3 separate regions of the Homo sapiens genome follow, and all the other regions are linked to region 1. The links are contacts of gene promoters, found by promoter capture Hi-C in human tissues and cell types (Jung and others, 2019). All regions are on one chromosome and are shown on one strand. The core of a region is centred on a gene start or on the middle of the fragment in contact, and the rest is flanking DNA. Distances in the headings are between cores, read along the strand shown.

Region 1 (4,772 bases), core at 946-3,445:
TCATCTGAATCAGAGCTTGCTTCCAACCTAGAAAGGCAGTGGTCTTCAGACAGTCAAAGATCAGATACTCCTTTGTGGACCAGGCAGCACCCATGCTTGCATTGGGCACAACCTGGCACTGTCAATTGCCATTTACACAGCATTTTCTGCACCAAGGCCACTCCCAGCTGGGGCTCTGACACTGGCTGGGCACCCATTTCCCAGGAGAGGAAACCGCTTTGGGCCCCAGTATCGAGGTCCTGCCAGTCCTCAGGTCACTGCTAGACCCCTCGATGACATGCGCATCCTATTCCAAAGGCACCGCAGCCCACAGCTAGAGGGAGGAAATGACTGCACCCCCAGAGGCCTACAGGCATACAAGTTTCGGTAAGCCCAGCAAGCCCGCATCCATCTCACCCCTTGCTTCTGCATCTGACAATTCCACTGGCCTGAGTCACAGTTTCCCCTTGAAACTTAACTGACCACTGAAGGTAAACAAGATTGTGAAAGCAAATGGCCCTTGGGAAGAACCATTCCCACCTGAAGGCTGTTCTTACTTATTTAAGAAGGTGGCCTGGCCATACAGAGGGGCGTGTCTTGCCCCAGTCACACAGCTGGCCGTTTATGCCTGGGACCCAAGACTCTGTGTTCCTGCAGGGCACAGTGGATGGGAACCAGCCCTGGCATTCCATAAATGTTGTTTCTAATCAAATCCCTATCTTGTCCTAGAAACAATAAAACTCATTTAATTCCACCCAAAAGCACGTATAAGTTAGAGTGGTTTTCATACGACAACTTGTAGGGTGCTACAGCTGCCCTGGGAGTGTCCCAAGGCCACCCTGGGCCAGGGCCCACACCGACCTAGGCTCCCTCAACATGTGGCTTCTACAGGGGATGTCCAGAGGCCAGCCACACTCCCTACCCGCGCCACATTTGGCACCTCCACATCTGCTCCCCCAGCAACCACTGAGTGCTGCCTGACTGCCAGGGCTCCATGTAGAGGGTGCAGGGGCTGAGGCTTCCTGTGGTGACTGCGCCCACATGCGTGCGTGCTCTAGAGCAGCTTGCCCCTTTCCTCCTCCTCTTTGCTGCGACTCGGAGGAAGGCAGCATGGTCAACCCCACTGATAGACAAGGACGCTGAAGCTCAGTGTACTCAGGGAACTCACTTGAGCTCACAGGGCCAGCACATAGGTACAAACCCAAGCCCAGTTGCTCTCGAAGCCCTGCTGTCACTTCTTTGTAACACTGCCCCTCAGCTGGAAAGGGCAGGGTATGCTTGAGTGGTGGCTGCACTCAGGCTTTGGGGTGAGCAGGGGAGAGGCTGAATCCTAAGACATCCACCTGGCCTAAGAGCAGGAAGCTGCAGTTGAGGAGCCTGGTTGGGCTGGGGCAGGGCTTGATTTGTGGTCTTGGGCACTAGAGCCCCATCAAAGGGTTGGGAGGCTGCAGGTCAACCTGGGCCCAAGTGGGACTCTAGATGCTTACACCAGGCTTGAAACACACCAAGCACGACCAGACTGAGCTGGCATCTCTATAAAGGGGGCCCACCTCAGCAGTGGGGCAGCACCACTCCTGCCTGTCCCCTTCCTTAGGAAGACACCACTTGGGTTAAAGCCACCATTTCTCCCCTGCTCCAACCATGCCTGGGCCACCCAGTGCCATCCTTGCAGAAGACTGTGTGAAATGCTTAGGCCTATCAGGAGCGCAGACAGACCCACTGTCACAGGTCCAGGCCGCTCTCAGCACAAGAACCTGGCTGTACCCTCTGCCTGGACAGCTGACTGCAGGTCAGGACTCCAGCCAGTCATCCGCTTCTGGAAGCACATGCTGGTAGCAGTTCGTCTAGCTGCAACAGATTCTCAGGGGCCTGATGGAAAAGGGCATGCCATTCACTTGGGGTTTGGGGGTTAAGAACAAGCTCCAAGCTTCCACAGGAAAAAGGCCTGCAGGGGCAGCATCCTCCAACCTGCCAGAGCTTTAGGACACTGAGCATTGATCTCTGACAACAGCACCTGCAGAGAGAAGTCTTCCTGAGTTCCCTGCCTCCTGTGAGGTCAACCTTCCATCTTTGCCTGGCGACTGTCCTTCCTCAGCTGTGCCTCCTTAGGGAGACAACAGGATATTACAACTTGGCTGCAGGTGTGATTCAAATCCTCAAGCCAGGAGAAAGGCAAGACCTCACAGAGGCTCTTGGGGTCCTGGGTGCAGGCAGGAAATGCAGAGCTCAGACCACCCCACCCCAAGTCTCTGCACTCCATGGGCCAAGTAAAAAGGCCCATTAAAGAAAAGACAAGATGCAGAGTTGTACAGGGTGGTGATAAAGACAGTGAGGCTTACGTCAAGCCCTGCTGCAAGCACGCTACGTGGCTCTTGTCAAATCCTCATGACAACCTCTGGAGGAAGCCAGGGGAGGTAACTGCCCCGTGAGTGATGGGGCAGGACTCAAACATAGTCCATCTGTGTCCAGCACCTGAGCTGTGATGGTGTGGACACTGGGAAGCACCAAGCCAGTGGATACCTCTCAGTTTTGCCTGCCTGATGTCTATTCTGCATTTCCTAGGAGTAACCCAAATTTCTTAGTGAACCATCCCTCCCACCTTGTCCCTTCCAGCTCCAGGGGTGGACATGTAACCCAGCCAGCCCAATTAGAGCACTGTACTCATCCACAGGGATGAGCTCCCGTCCAACCAGGCCAGGAGCAGCCTGTTCCTTAATTGTGTTCCTAACAGCTAGGAAAGAGATGCCATTTTGCTCTCATATCATAAATGATACTTTGGTCCAAAAGTAACAGATAGCCCTGACTGGAACCGTGTGGAGACAGAGCTCTCACAATACACGAAGTTCTGAGGCGGGGCAGACACACAGCAGCCCTCAGGTGCAGGCTCTGCTTCTGGGCAACTCTCCTGCCTCCCAGCCTCTGCAAACCTCCAGCCTGGGAGTAAGGTGGCCGTTCAGCCCCTGAGTCCAGGCGTCACATCCTTCCTCCCTTCAATGTCCAGTGAAGGAGAAAAGCTGTCTTTTCCTGTTGAGTTCCAAAAAGCAGAAAAGCTTTTCCCCAAACCCCTAGGACATGTCCCTTCACATATCATTGGCCAGAGTCAGGTAACAAGCCGCTGCCAGGGGAGGGGTGTTCCACTGTCAGGACGGATCCTTCGATAGCGTGATGTTCAGGAGTCAACCACAAGTAGCACTGCATCTTGGATTTGAAGGAGAAAATGGAAAGCCAGAGCTGTGGGGATTATGCCAGGGAAGGTGCCACCTGAGTGTGTGGCCCACACACGACAGGGCAGAGCCAGTTCTGGAGCCAGCCAGCACTCCTGATGACATCCAGACGTCTCCAGCCCTGAGCCTATCTGTTTCCTATCCTGCTTAAGGCAATTGAAGTTGGGTTTCTGTCCTTTGAAACCAGAGTACTGCCTGATACACAGAGAGCAGTGGGAGGTCTTATGAGGCTTTAAGACAAGAAACTGAGGCTGGAGAGGTGATAATGAAGAGCTATGCTCTGCCTTCCGTGCCATGCACTTTAGATTTTATCCTGGAGACAATGAGGACCCACAGACAGATGAGCAGGACAGCAATAAGGCTTTTCTGTCAGCAGGGCTGGGCTGGACTCAAGAAGAAGACCTGGGAGGCAAGGGGAGGAGCAGCATGCCACAGAAGCGGCCCTGCAGGGCCCGGGAGTTTGAACCTGAGCAGTGGCCATGGTGCTGCAGAGGAAGGGCCTGATCTGCGAGGTCCCTCCTGAGGGCGACAACCAAGGGTGGGCTGATCTGCTCAAAGGGCCTAGCATGGCTTCCTCTGGCTTTCCCAAAACCTTCCTGGTTTCCTTCTCTGCCTTCTCTCCTTCCCAGGGAGCTCCAACCCTGTGCATCTGGTGCACCACACATGGGCACAGAGAGCAGAATCCCGTAAGCTTCCACTGCCAAAAGCCAGACAACCATGAAACATCAAATGCACAGAAACTGCCTTCCTTTATGTATCTTCTGGAACAGAAAATAGTTCAGGATGAAGGTCACTCAATATTTTCTAGATAAAAACACATGGCAGCAGAGGGAGCTCAGCCTTGAGAGCCGATATCCACAGGTGTTGGAAAGCCAGCTCTGCAGCCTCGGGCACCTGATTCACAGTCACTGCTCCCAGAATGAGGCAGCACAGGGACACAGGGAGCATCTCCACTGCTGCTTACTGATGGAGCATCAGGATGCAGCCTTGAAGACAGGGGCACAGCCCCAGCAGGAAGTGGGGGGCTGCCCAGCTCTGGGTTTCTGTAAATGGCCCCAGGGTGGCAGTGACTCCAAACACAGCCCTCTCAGGTCACTCATTACCTATTTCCAATCAAAATCCTACTGAAAAACAACTTGTTTATTTCCTTTATTGGCTTTTTCCTATTATTCCTTTCACCAAATATTTTCTGGGCCGAGCCCAGGATGGATGCCGAGAATACAAAGATGGAGGAGACTCAGCTTCTGCCCCCAGGGAGACCAGGGTCCACAGGAGATGCAGGCACAAAGACAAATACAAGCAGCAGGCAGCACAGAGGACGGGGCACACCTCTACCCAAAGGATGTGAGCCCTGAGCTGTGCTGGAAAGTGAGCATACTGCAGGTAGGGGAAAGCCCGGAAGGGCTCCAAGGAGAGAAGCAATGCAGCATTCCTCTGGGAAGGGGAGTGCACAGCGTTGCTGGAGGTGGGGGAAGGGCAGATCTGGAAGAGTCAAGACTGCAGGCTTGTTTGGGCAAGAAAATGGATTCTTTCCAGATGTCATAATCTTATCTCACCCTTGTGATTAGC
Region 2 (4,772 bases), core at 1,368-3,867, 220 kb before region 1:
CAGGTGGGGTGGGGAGGTGCAAGGCCTGGAACCCCCTTTCCAAGGAAACAAGACAGAAGTAGAAAAGGCCCTGTAGGCACCCAGGCCCTGCTCCTGTGCTTCAGACAAGCTCGCCCATGCCCCTCCCCAGTGAGGCCCAGGGCCTTGGGATCGGGTGGTCCCAATGAGGACACCTCATTAGAGCAGTTATTCAGCATGGCGCTGGCGACAGCAGATAAGCCTTATCAGCTCATCTCCCCTCCCACAGACAGACAGAAAGTGCCCGAGCAAATGGTACCCTAGAGCTCCACTGGCGGCCTGCCCTGCTGGTTAAGGAAGGTCTGGATGGTGTGTGATCCTGCAGGATGCACACCCCGCGTGTCACCCAGGACACACTTTTCTACAGTCCACAGAACAGGGCACTGCTGGCCACAGAAACATGCATTTCAAAGATGTAGTCATATACACAGTTGCCCACAACCCAGATACGCAGACACAAACACCCACCGCAACACACATCAATTCATACATGGAGCTGTACGTAGACATGCAGACACACTCGGATACATCTCCTCCTCCCCACCATCAGTTCAAAGATACAATGATATACACTGATACCTATGCTGTTAAAGACAGATGGACATGCACATAGCCAAATGCATGTTCAAATACACAAACACAAACACACGCCCCAACAGCCATCAATTAATAAAGAGAATTATACATGGATATCCAGACACATGCAACACACCACACACACACACCTACACATACACCAGTTCAAGGACACATGCAGATACCCAGGTACAAACTATTAAAGACACACACAGGCTAGGCGCAGTAGCTCACGCCTATAATCCCAGGACTTTGGGAGGCCGAGGTGGGAGGATTGCTTTAGTCCAGGAGTTTGGGACCAGTCTGGGCAACATAGTGAGACTGTGTTTCCACAAAAATAAAAATAAAAATAATTAGCCAGGCACGGTGGCACATGCCTGTGGTCCCAGATACTCAGGAGGCTGAGGTGGGAGGATGGCTTGAGTCTGGGAGGTTGAGGCTGCAGTAAGCGCTGATTGAACCGCTGCACTTCAGTCTGGGTAACAGATCAAGACCCTGTCTCAAGAAACAAAACAAAACAAAACAACAACAACAACAAAAATACACACAGTAACACATGCCTAGATACATGCACATACACACGCAAACACACACTCCAAAACACACCCATTCATAGACATGCCACACACTGCTACAGACACATGGGCAAACACCTGGAAATCCCCACCCCTCATTACATGAGTCTCTGACATGATGACCCCACAGACACAGAGCCAAAGGGACGCACAACCATTTCCACAGACACACTCTCTTGTGCCAAATTCCAGGGTCATGAAATAGCCACACTGTGACCTACTGCCCAATACACAAACTCTCAGGAACCCACAAGAAGAAATGAACATACTCATACACCCAGTTTTGCAGACACTCCTGTGTGCTCCTAAGTGCACACAGACACACCTGGGCACACAGGACATAGACTCTGAGCCACATGCATAGAACACACACACAATGCAATAGTCACCACCAGATTTGGAGAAAGACCTATGGACAGCAGGGGTCACAAAGACCAGGGGACAGAAACACTCCTCTGGGGCACACCTGGGCACGGGAGCACAGATTTCCCAGTCCTTCCAAGCCCAAGCACTTTCCCTCTGGGCTCAAGGTCCCCAGGCCACTTTCACTCTCCCTGATCTGCTGGAATGGGAATCAGGGGTGGGGGTGGGGGGACGCTGACTGGTTGAATCCCTTAGTAAGAACTTTGGCAGCACAAGGACTGGACTGTCTTTGCCCACAAACCCAGGGGCCTTCTGGGGATGAGGACTCCCACACTCACTTTCTCCCCCCCTCCTGACTCCCACTTCTGTGAACAAGCCCTCTGCACACTTCCTTGCTTCCCCCATTGTGAGAGTCTGCCCCAAGGAGATGGGCCAGGGGGACACCAGACAGTGGACTTCTAAAGTGCTCAGGGGGTCCCCCAGCGTTAGGAACTGGAGGGGGGGTGGGACAGGGAGAGGGGCTGCGCCTGCACTTAGCTAAACAAGCCTGGCAGTGAGGGCGTCCTGAGTGTGAGCCCGAGTGCCGAGTTGCATCTGATTGTATGGCCATGTGTGTCGGTGTGACCCAGGCCGTCTGTCTGAGGATGTCCTCGCGGCCACAGCTGTGTGCACATGTGCAGGGATGTGTGCGTGTCCGTGTGAGCACTCCTGGAAGTGGGTTGAAGACAGAGGAGCGGGCGTCTGTGTACCATTATCAGTGAGTGCGTGTGCTCACAGCTCCTGAGGGTCCCCGGGGAGAGTCTCAGTAAAGACGTGTCCCAAGCTTTCTGAGCAAGCATCCCTGAGGTCAGGGGCGCGCGTGTGCGCTCCGGAGAGGGTGGGAGCGGCCTGGAGTGTGGATGCACAGGGTGTGCGCGCCCTGAGTGCCTAGCGGCCCTTGGCCGGCCAGGCGGCTGGACCTGGTAGGCCGGGTGCAGAGCCCCGGGTACCCTCCTGCCCCCTGCGGCGCTCCCGCCCCCGTCGCCACCCCCTGCCCCCCCGCAAAGTGATGTCGAAATAAAAAGCCGCGTTGCGGCCGGTGGGGGAGAGAGAGGCAGCGTGAGCGCCAGGAAGGTAGCGAGGCCAGCGTCGCCCCGGGACTCGCTGCTCAAGTCTGTCTATTGCCTGCCGCCACATCCATCCTAGCAGGGCCCCGTCGCCCACCAGGCGGACAAAAGCGGTCCGCTGAACACCATGCGGCCGCTCGGCGTGCCGCCCAGGCTCTGCTGGTGAGCGCCGCCACCCCGCGCCCAGGTCCCGCGAGCCCGCCTGCCGCGCACCTCGCCCTGCTCCCAGCTCTACTCCAGGCCCCGTCCGCCCGGGGGCGCCGCCCACCGCGCCTCGCTCGGTGAGTTTCTTCCACTTCCACCTTCCCTGGGCCCGGCCCTTCCCGCCCCCGGCCCGGCCCGCCTGGCACCCGAATCGCTTGGTCCGTTTGCCCTGTGGCCCCTACCTTTGGGGCTCGCCTTGGCCCTGCCAGAGACCGGAAACCCTGGTTATAGGGACTTTAACCAGAGGGAGTATTTGGTTACCTGGGCACAGCAGGCCCGCCTCGGGCCTCTTGTCTTCCCATTTCTCGGAGCCACAGGCCACGAGACCCTGGCATTCCCAGAGCCTCGCAAAGCACCCCCGCCTCCCGGCCCCCGAACTGGGGCCTTTGTCTCGGCCGCCCCCAATCCCCAGGCCACCGCGGCGGATGCGTCCGAGCCGGGCCGCCGAGCGGCGGCTGCACCTGCCGGCTGGTCCCGTGCGCCGGCTTTTCGCGGCTTAACCCAGCTCGCTCCTGCTTGCGCCCCCGCGCGCTGCGCCCCGCAGCCCTTTATCCTGTGTGACTGGGGTGCGTGTGGGGGAGAGCGCCGGGTCTGGAAGTCTCCCCCCGCCCCAAGCCGGAGTCGGAATCCGTTTAGTGGGATTTCAATAAGAATGGGGCCGCCGCGGGCTTGAAGATCTGCCGCCGGTAGGCGTAGACGGCGTTCTGGATCTGTCTGAAAACGGGGCATTTAAAATTATTCTGTGGCGGCCAGGCTTGAACTCCGCGTTGCTCCAACCACGAGGGGAAAGGCCCCGCGTTCAGGGACCCCGTGTGTGGCGAACGCTCCTTTACCGGAAAACAAGGAAGGAAATTCGTTGTTTTGGAAAAAGCCTCCTCTCCCGAGGTCGGGAACATCTGGTGGTGAGCTCCAGGTCTACGCAGGCACCCCGTGCTAGGATTCGTTTATGAGCAGGCAGGATTCGAGAACCAGGTAGGGCCCGTGCGGCAGCCGAGGCGTCTGGGGAGCGTTTCCCAGCCGGGCTGACAAATTGCAGACAAATTGTGCCTAACGAAACGGATTTACCAGTTGTCAGGCCGCCGGCCCCGGCCGCTCCAAATAAACCGTGGCTGTTCGTGGAGGAGGGAGAAGCACGGCCCGATTGTCTCCGGGTCTCAGCAGGGTTCCGCGGGGAGCCTGCCAGGCTTGAAGGTAGGGGTCAGAAGCGATATAGAATCTCGGAGGCGCCTGGGTCCAGGGTGCCGAGACACCTAGGACGTGGGGGCCACAGACTCTACGATTCCCAAAGACACAGAACAGTAATGAGGTGGGAGAGCCTGCACTGATGCCGAGGGAGGGAGCCTTCTGCTTTAAGGGGCTGGAATTGAACCTCAAGGAGCAGGAGGGGCCGTTATAGCAGTAGTCCCCCCCTTGGGAACCCCCCCGGAGGGATGGCTGCTGGCCTGAGATCTAATGCCCCGGCTTTAAGGGAACTTCTGAACCCATCTGCTAAGGCACCCCACTTCCTCCCCGTACCCCTCAAGGTTTATTGCCAGTGTGGGGCTGGGAGGCCGCTGGGTTGCGAATTAAATTTCTCTATGGAAGGTAGTCCCTTAGCAAATGGGTTTCCTTGACACCCCACCCCCAGCCCCACACCGCGGGCCAATTAGCTGCCCATAAGGAAAAGGCGAGAAGAATTAGGTTACAAAGGGAGGGCAAACTTATGGTCCCAAAGGGGCCGCCTCGGATGAGCTAACTTTAAACAAAGGGCTCAGAGGGGGGGGGGGGCTGGACGGCCGGGGAGACCTGGGCATCTCTGTGTCCCCACCTGGCACCCGCGGCTTAGTAGAGGCCTGAGAAGCACTCTAGAACCGGGCACCAGATCTGCTACCTCCCCAGCTCCCAGGCAGAAGCACCCAGGTCAAATGGTGGCGATCGCCGCTGTGAGTTC
Region 3 (4,772 bases), core at 1,374-3,873, 190 kb before region 1:
GGAGGAGGGGAGCTGCCCTAACTGGCTGAAGCAACTTGGAACTCAGAGGGCCCCGCAAATGATGCCTTCACTCAGGCAGTAAACCCCTACTTGGGGCTAGATCTGAGCCTCCAGAGACCACATGAGCCACCACCAGGAAGGATGTACCTGGGTTGGGATGGCAGGGAAGGGATCTGGGCAACCCAGTGGGCACCTGTCATCACTGGCTTGGAGGACTGGGCAGGAAGGCTGCCTGAAGAGGTCTGAGAGCAGAGCTGAGATCGCCCTGGCACCACTGGGGAGGACGTGAGCTCACTGGCCCTTCTACGGTTGCGTAGCCCACCGCCTTCCCACCCCATGGGCCACCAATCTGCATGTAAGCCTGCCATGGGCCTGTCTGCCTACCATGGCTTCCACTGGCTCACCAGGCAGGCTGCCCTTTCATCTGTCTCTGCCCACCCATTATCGACACTGCCAGGATGCCAGCACACGCACACACAGCTCCTTCTCCATTCTGAGCTCCTCACAGTAACCCTGTGAGAGGGGACCATCATTACTTCCCTTTTACAGATGAGATGAGGACACTGGGGCACAGCCAGGTTATTGACTTCCCCAAGGACACATGGCTGGGGAGTGGCAGTGCTGGGGTTGGAACCCAGGCTGTGTCACCTGACAGGCTGAGCTCTTCCCCACTGTGGGATCTGCCCCTTGGCCCGTCTGTCTGTCCATCCGCCCATCCACTCTGTGACTGCCCACCGTTCAGCCCCTTCATTCGCCTGCCACTCTGTCCATCCAGCCGCCCGTCCATCCATCCATCGCTGTCGCCCATCCATCCTGGAGCTAATGCAGTTAGAGGACCAGGGGCCCTGAGGGGAGAGAAGGCCCCAAACTGCCCATCTGGCCGGGCCAGGGTGGCCGGGGGTGGGGTGGGCTGCCCAGGCCAGGCAGGCCTGCAGGGGGCTGGAGGGAATTAGCTGAGTGACTGCCAGGATCATCTAATTAGGAACTCTAGTGATAAGCAGATAGGATCGGGGGTGATTAGAATCCTTTTAAAAAGCCACTCCATTAATTACAGAGACAGAGAGGGGCCTCTGGCTGCTCCGAATACCAATTGGCTGCTTAATCGGCTCCATCAGCTCGCCCGGGGGAGACCTTCCTGGTACTGCTGTGTGACCTTCGGTGTGCCCTGCCCTCTCTGGGCCTCGCTTGGTCGCTGAAGGTCCTTCTCTCCCTGGCCATGGCTCGGGGTTGGCTTTAGGGTGGGCCTGAGATGAGGGACATGGGACATCTGAGGCCAGGAAGCCTAGGCTGGCTCCCCAGAGAGGGCAAATCCCCAAAAGCACCCACTGGTGAATGAGGACAGAGAGGCTTGAAGAGGGGAGGTGGCCTGACAGAATTGACGGTGGAGCGTGTGGGGCCTAAGTGTGCGCTCATGCCTGTGTGTCCCTGTCCCTCCAGCAGGCCCTATGGAGGCCTCAGAGCCCCTGATGCTCCCCACTGGCTCCCCAAAAACTGGCGTGGAAGGAGACTAGCCTGAACCCTTTGCAGAAGGGAAACTCCTCTGCACACTGCCCGGCTCCACGGTCCACAGCTCCCTTCATGGGGAGCTCCCCACAGGGGCCTCCATCTCAGGATGCCCTTGATGGTGAGGTGTGGGACCTGCTCCCAGGTGACACACCTGTTCCCGTAAGTCCTACCGAGTGGTCTGTTCTGTGTGCCCTAAGACAGCCCTGAATGGGCGGCAGTGAGGGGGTCTCCAGCCCTGTCTCCATCCTGGCTGACTCCCACAGACCCATCCCAGGAACAAGGGTTGGAGCAGGGCAGTGGCTGGAAGAAATTTCCCCTGGGAGTACAACGCAGACCAGAGCCAGGGTCTCCAACAAGGCAGGGAGGGCCAGGACGGGGAGGCGGCCACAGGATTCTTGGATGCCTCATCATACTAGGTCCTTTGTCTCTTAACATTGTTTTCACCACCCCTCCTCCACTGTCCTGATTCCATCGTCATGGAAACTTCAGGCTTCACCTTTACAATGTCAGGCCACCAACACCCTCAGCAGTGTCACCATCACCATCAACACCCCAGCGTCCCATCCCCATCTCCTCTACCACTGCCACCAGCCCCACTATCACTATCATCTCTGTCACCGTCACCACGGTGCTCTCCACCCGTGTCAGCATTGTGTCACCACCACATCACTGTCACCACACTTCCTCCACCTCCATCTCCACCCACCATCCCATCTGTGACATCACCTTATCAGCTCTGCCACCAGTATCAACCACTCACACCGCCTTTGCCATCACCACCGTCATTGCCCCCTCTACTACCACCACCATCACCACCACCGGGTCTGCCTCAGCCAGACCCACCACTGCCTCTAATTAGACTGCCACCATCATCACTGCCACCACCACTGCCCCTCCAATGCCTTCCTGATGTCACCATCTGCTTTCTCTCTGCTATCCTCACACCCAACTCCATCACAACCACCACCTTCATCTGAGCCGCCATCACCCTCACAGTACACAGCCCTCAAATGTGTACCAAGGAGGAGGACATTTACTACACGCTGCACCCTGAACAGTCTGGGACCAGCGGTCAGGGAACAAGGAATCGAGATGCTCACCTGCAGCTCCCAGGTGAGCGGCTCTCTAGAGCTTGCCTGGGAGCTGCTGAGGAGCTCACGGTATTCCAGGAAGCTCCCCATCCATGCCTCAGCCTGTGGCTCAGAAGCAGGGTCTTCGCAGAAGATTGCCCCGAGCTGTTGCAAAGCTCACCATTGTCACCTGCCTGCAACGGCCTCTCTTTTCCACTCTCCAAATCCCTTGTATTGGCAGGCTCTAGTCTGGAATTATACCGGTGATGGGATTCTGGAAAATCCCTCAGATTTCTCCAGGATGCAAGGAGACCATGGAAGAGGTTGGTGTAATGCCAAGTTAGCAACAGAAAATACAGAGCCCCACACCTCAGTGCCATCACCATCGCCATCGGCACTCACACCAGCATGTCCACCACTGTGTCCTTCTCACCCCTCGGCACCCCCCTCTACCATTGCCTCTTCCACAACCACCCTCACCACCATCCTCCATTAATAGCACAATTCCTGCCTCCTATCCCATCACCACCACGGGTGTCCCCGGCACCAGCAGCACCAACACTGCTCCCAGCAGAGCCATCGTTACCAGCCCCGCTGTCAGTCCCATCTTGAGCATCTGGCATATGTTGGAGAACTGCTCACTCCCTCTTCCCCATGGGAATCTCAGGCCTCTCTTCCTATTGCCCTGAGATTTGCAGAACCTTCCTGAAGGAAACATTCTTTGCCCCATGGATACTGGCCTTGACCATGGGATGCAGCAAGACTGCCACACATCATGGCCCAACAGAAGCTTTCAGAGGCAGCCCAAGTTCCTGCTGTCTCTGAGTGGCACTGTCATGAGAGAGGGGTGTGCAGGTCAGAGCTGATTCTCCAGCCTGGGACCCACAGTGAGAAGCTATGGGAGGTGGGGCCCTGGCAGCTGCCTGTAGGCACCAGTGAGTGAAGTGGGGGGAACTAGATGTTTGTCGTGAGCCACTGAGAGGTGGAAGCTGTCACTGTGGTATAGCCGAACAAGATACAACCTCTGCTACCTCCACCACCTTCACCTTCATCATCACCATTACTGTCACCACTGCCAACCACACCAATGGCTCACTAGGAGCCATTCCCATCACCTCCTCATCATACCTGCACCATCACTGCCAACCACAACAAAGGCTCGCTGTTACCATCTCCTCTGGCATGACCATCACCACCACCACTACCATCATCAATTACTCTCAAGCACAAGCCTTGCTGCTGTCACCACCAGCATCACCATCATCATGATCAACTCCACCATCACCCATAATTACTCTCCCCCTCACACCCACCATGACCATTACCTCCACATCAACACTGCTCCCATGGTCACCTCTACTATATAATGACACCTTATCCATCTCCATGGACACCCACCGTGCCTCTCCCCACCAGCAACACAGTCAACAGCAGTGCCTCTCCCACTGCCACCGCCATCATGGAGAACTGTGCAGGGCAAGCATCTTTCTCCCGCCCCAGGAACAAGCCTGCAAGGGACAGCAGGTGCTAACTGCTAACCGAGACATAGTGACAAAAATCCAGCCACAGAGATAAAGAATCAGGTTCATCTGTAGCTACATCCAGTGGAGAAGTTCTGCTCTTCAACTCCTCTGCTAAGCCACATGTGTCAGCAGGTGTAGGTGGGTGGATGCCCAGCATGGGGGTGCGAGTCGTGCTTTTGATAAGCTGCATGGAGGGACAGCGATGGTCACTGGAGGCTGGGTTTACAAAGTGTCTCTACAGTCTGTCTCCATTCCTCCTGGCATTTGGGATTGGTTAGAACACACACTGTCCCCTGCTAGGAGCCTGAAACCTAGCACCCATGAGCACTGAAAGAAAAGAGAGAGAGGGAGGATAATAGAAAGGGATGAAGACTAGAAAAAGGAAGAGGAGGAAGAAGGGAGGAATGAAGGAAGGAAGGAGGAAGGAAAGAAGCCAGGAGTGAAGAAGGGAGGGAAGGGAGAAGGGGGAAGGGGAGGGAGGAAGGAAAGAAAGAAGGAAGGAAGGAGAAAGGGAGGAAGGAAGGAAGGAAGGAAGGAGGAAATGAAGGAAGGAGGGGGAAGGGAGGGAGGGAGGAGGGAAGGAAGGCAGGGAACGGAAGGGAAGGGAAGGGAAAGAAGGAGGGAAGGAGGGAGGGAGGAAGGGAGGAAGGAAAGAAGGCAGGCAGGAAGGCTA

What was found. The method cuts DNA at HindIII sites, captures the fragments that hold promoters and counts their contacts. A contact is called where the count stands out against the background at its distance.
Region 2: a contact is called between the fragment with the promoter of GATA2 here and a fragment that was not itself captured in region 1, in 1 of the 25 tissues and cell types used here (mesendoderm cells).
Region 3: the fragment with the promoter of DNAJB8 here is called in contact with a fragment that was not itself captured in region 1 in 3 of the 25 tissues and cell types used here (IMR-90 fibroblasts, mesenchymal stem cells and pancreas).

The regions. Positions count from the first base shown.
Region 1 is chr3:128,270,613-128,275,384 of GRCh38, reverse strand. The region is part of intron 4 of EEFSEC (eukaryotic elongation factor, selenocysteine-tRNA specific); the gene reads right to left. Among named protein-coding and RNA genes, the nearest start is that of EEFSEC, 120 kb to the right of the region's middle. The HindIII fragment of the contact is 5,747 bases long and covers 1-4,772 here.
Region 2 is chr3:128,491,046-128,495,817 of GRCh38, reverse strand. It overlaps GATA2 (GATA binding protein 2), which reads left to right and starts at 2,617. Exons shown (of 6, transcript NM_032638.5): 1 at 2,617-2,919. The region is part of intron 2 of GATA2-AS1 (GATA2 antisense RNA 1); the gene reads right to left. RefSeq lists a silencer at 2,818-2,907 and an enhancer at 4,679-4,772. The HindIII fragment of the contact is 13,259 bases long and covers 545-4,772 here.
Region 3 is chr3:128,464,741-128,469,512 of GRCh38, reverse strand. DNAJB8 (DnaJ heat shock protein family (Hsp40) member B8) reads left to right here and starts at 2,623. Exons shown (of 3, transcript NM_153330.6): 1 at 2,623-2,899; 2 at 4,077-4,237. All of the region lies in intron 2 of DNAJB8-AS1 (DNAJB8 antisense RNA 1), which reads right to left. The HindIII fragment of the contact is 25,608 bases long and covers 1-4,772 here.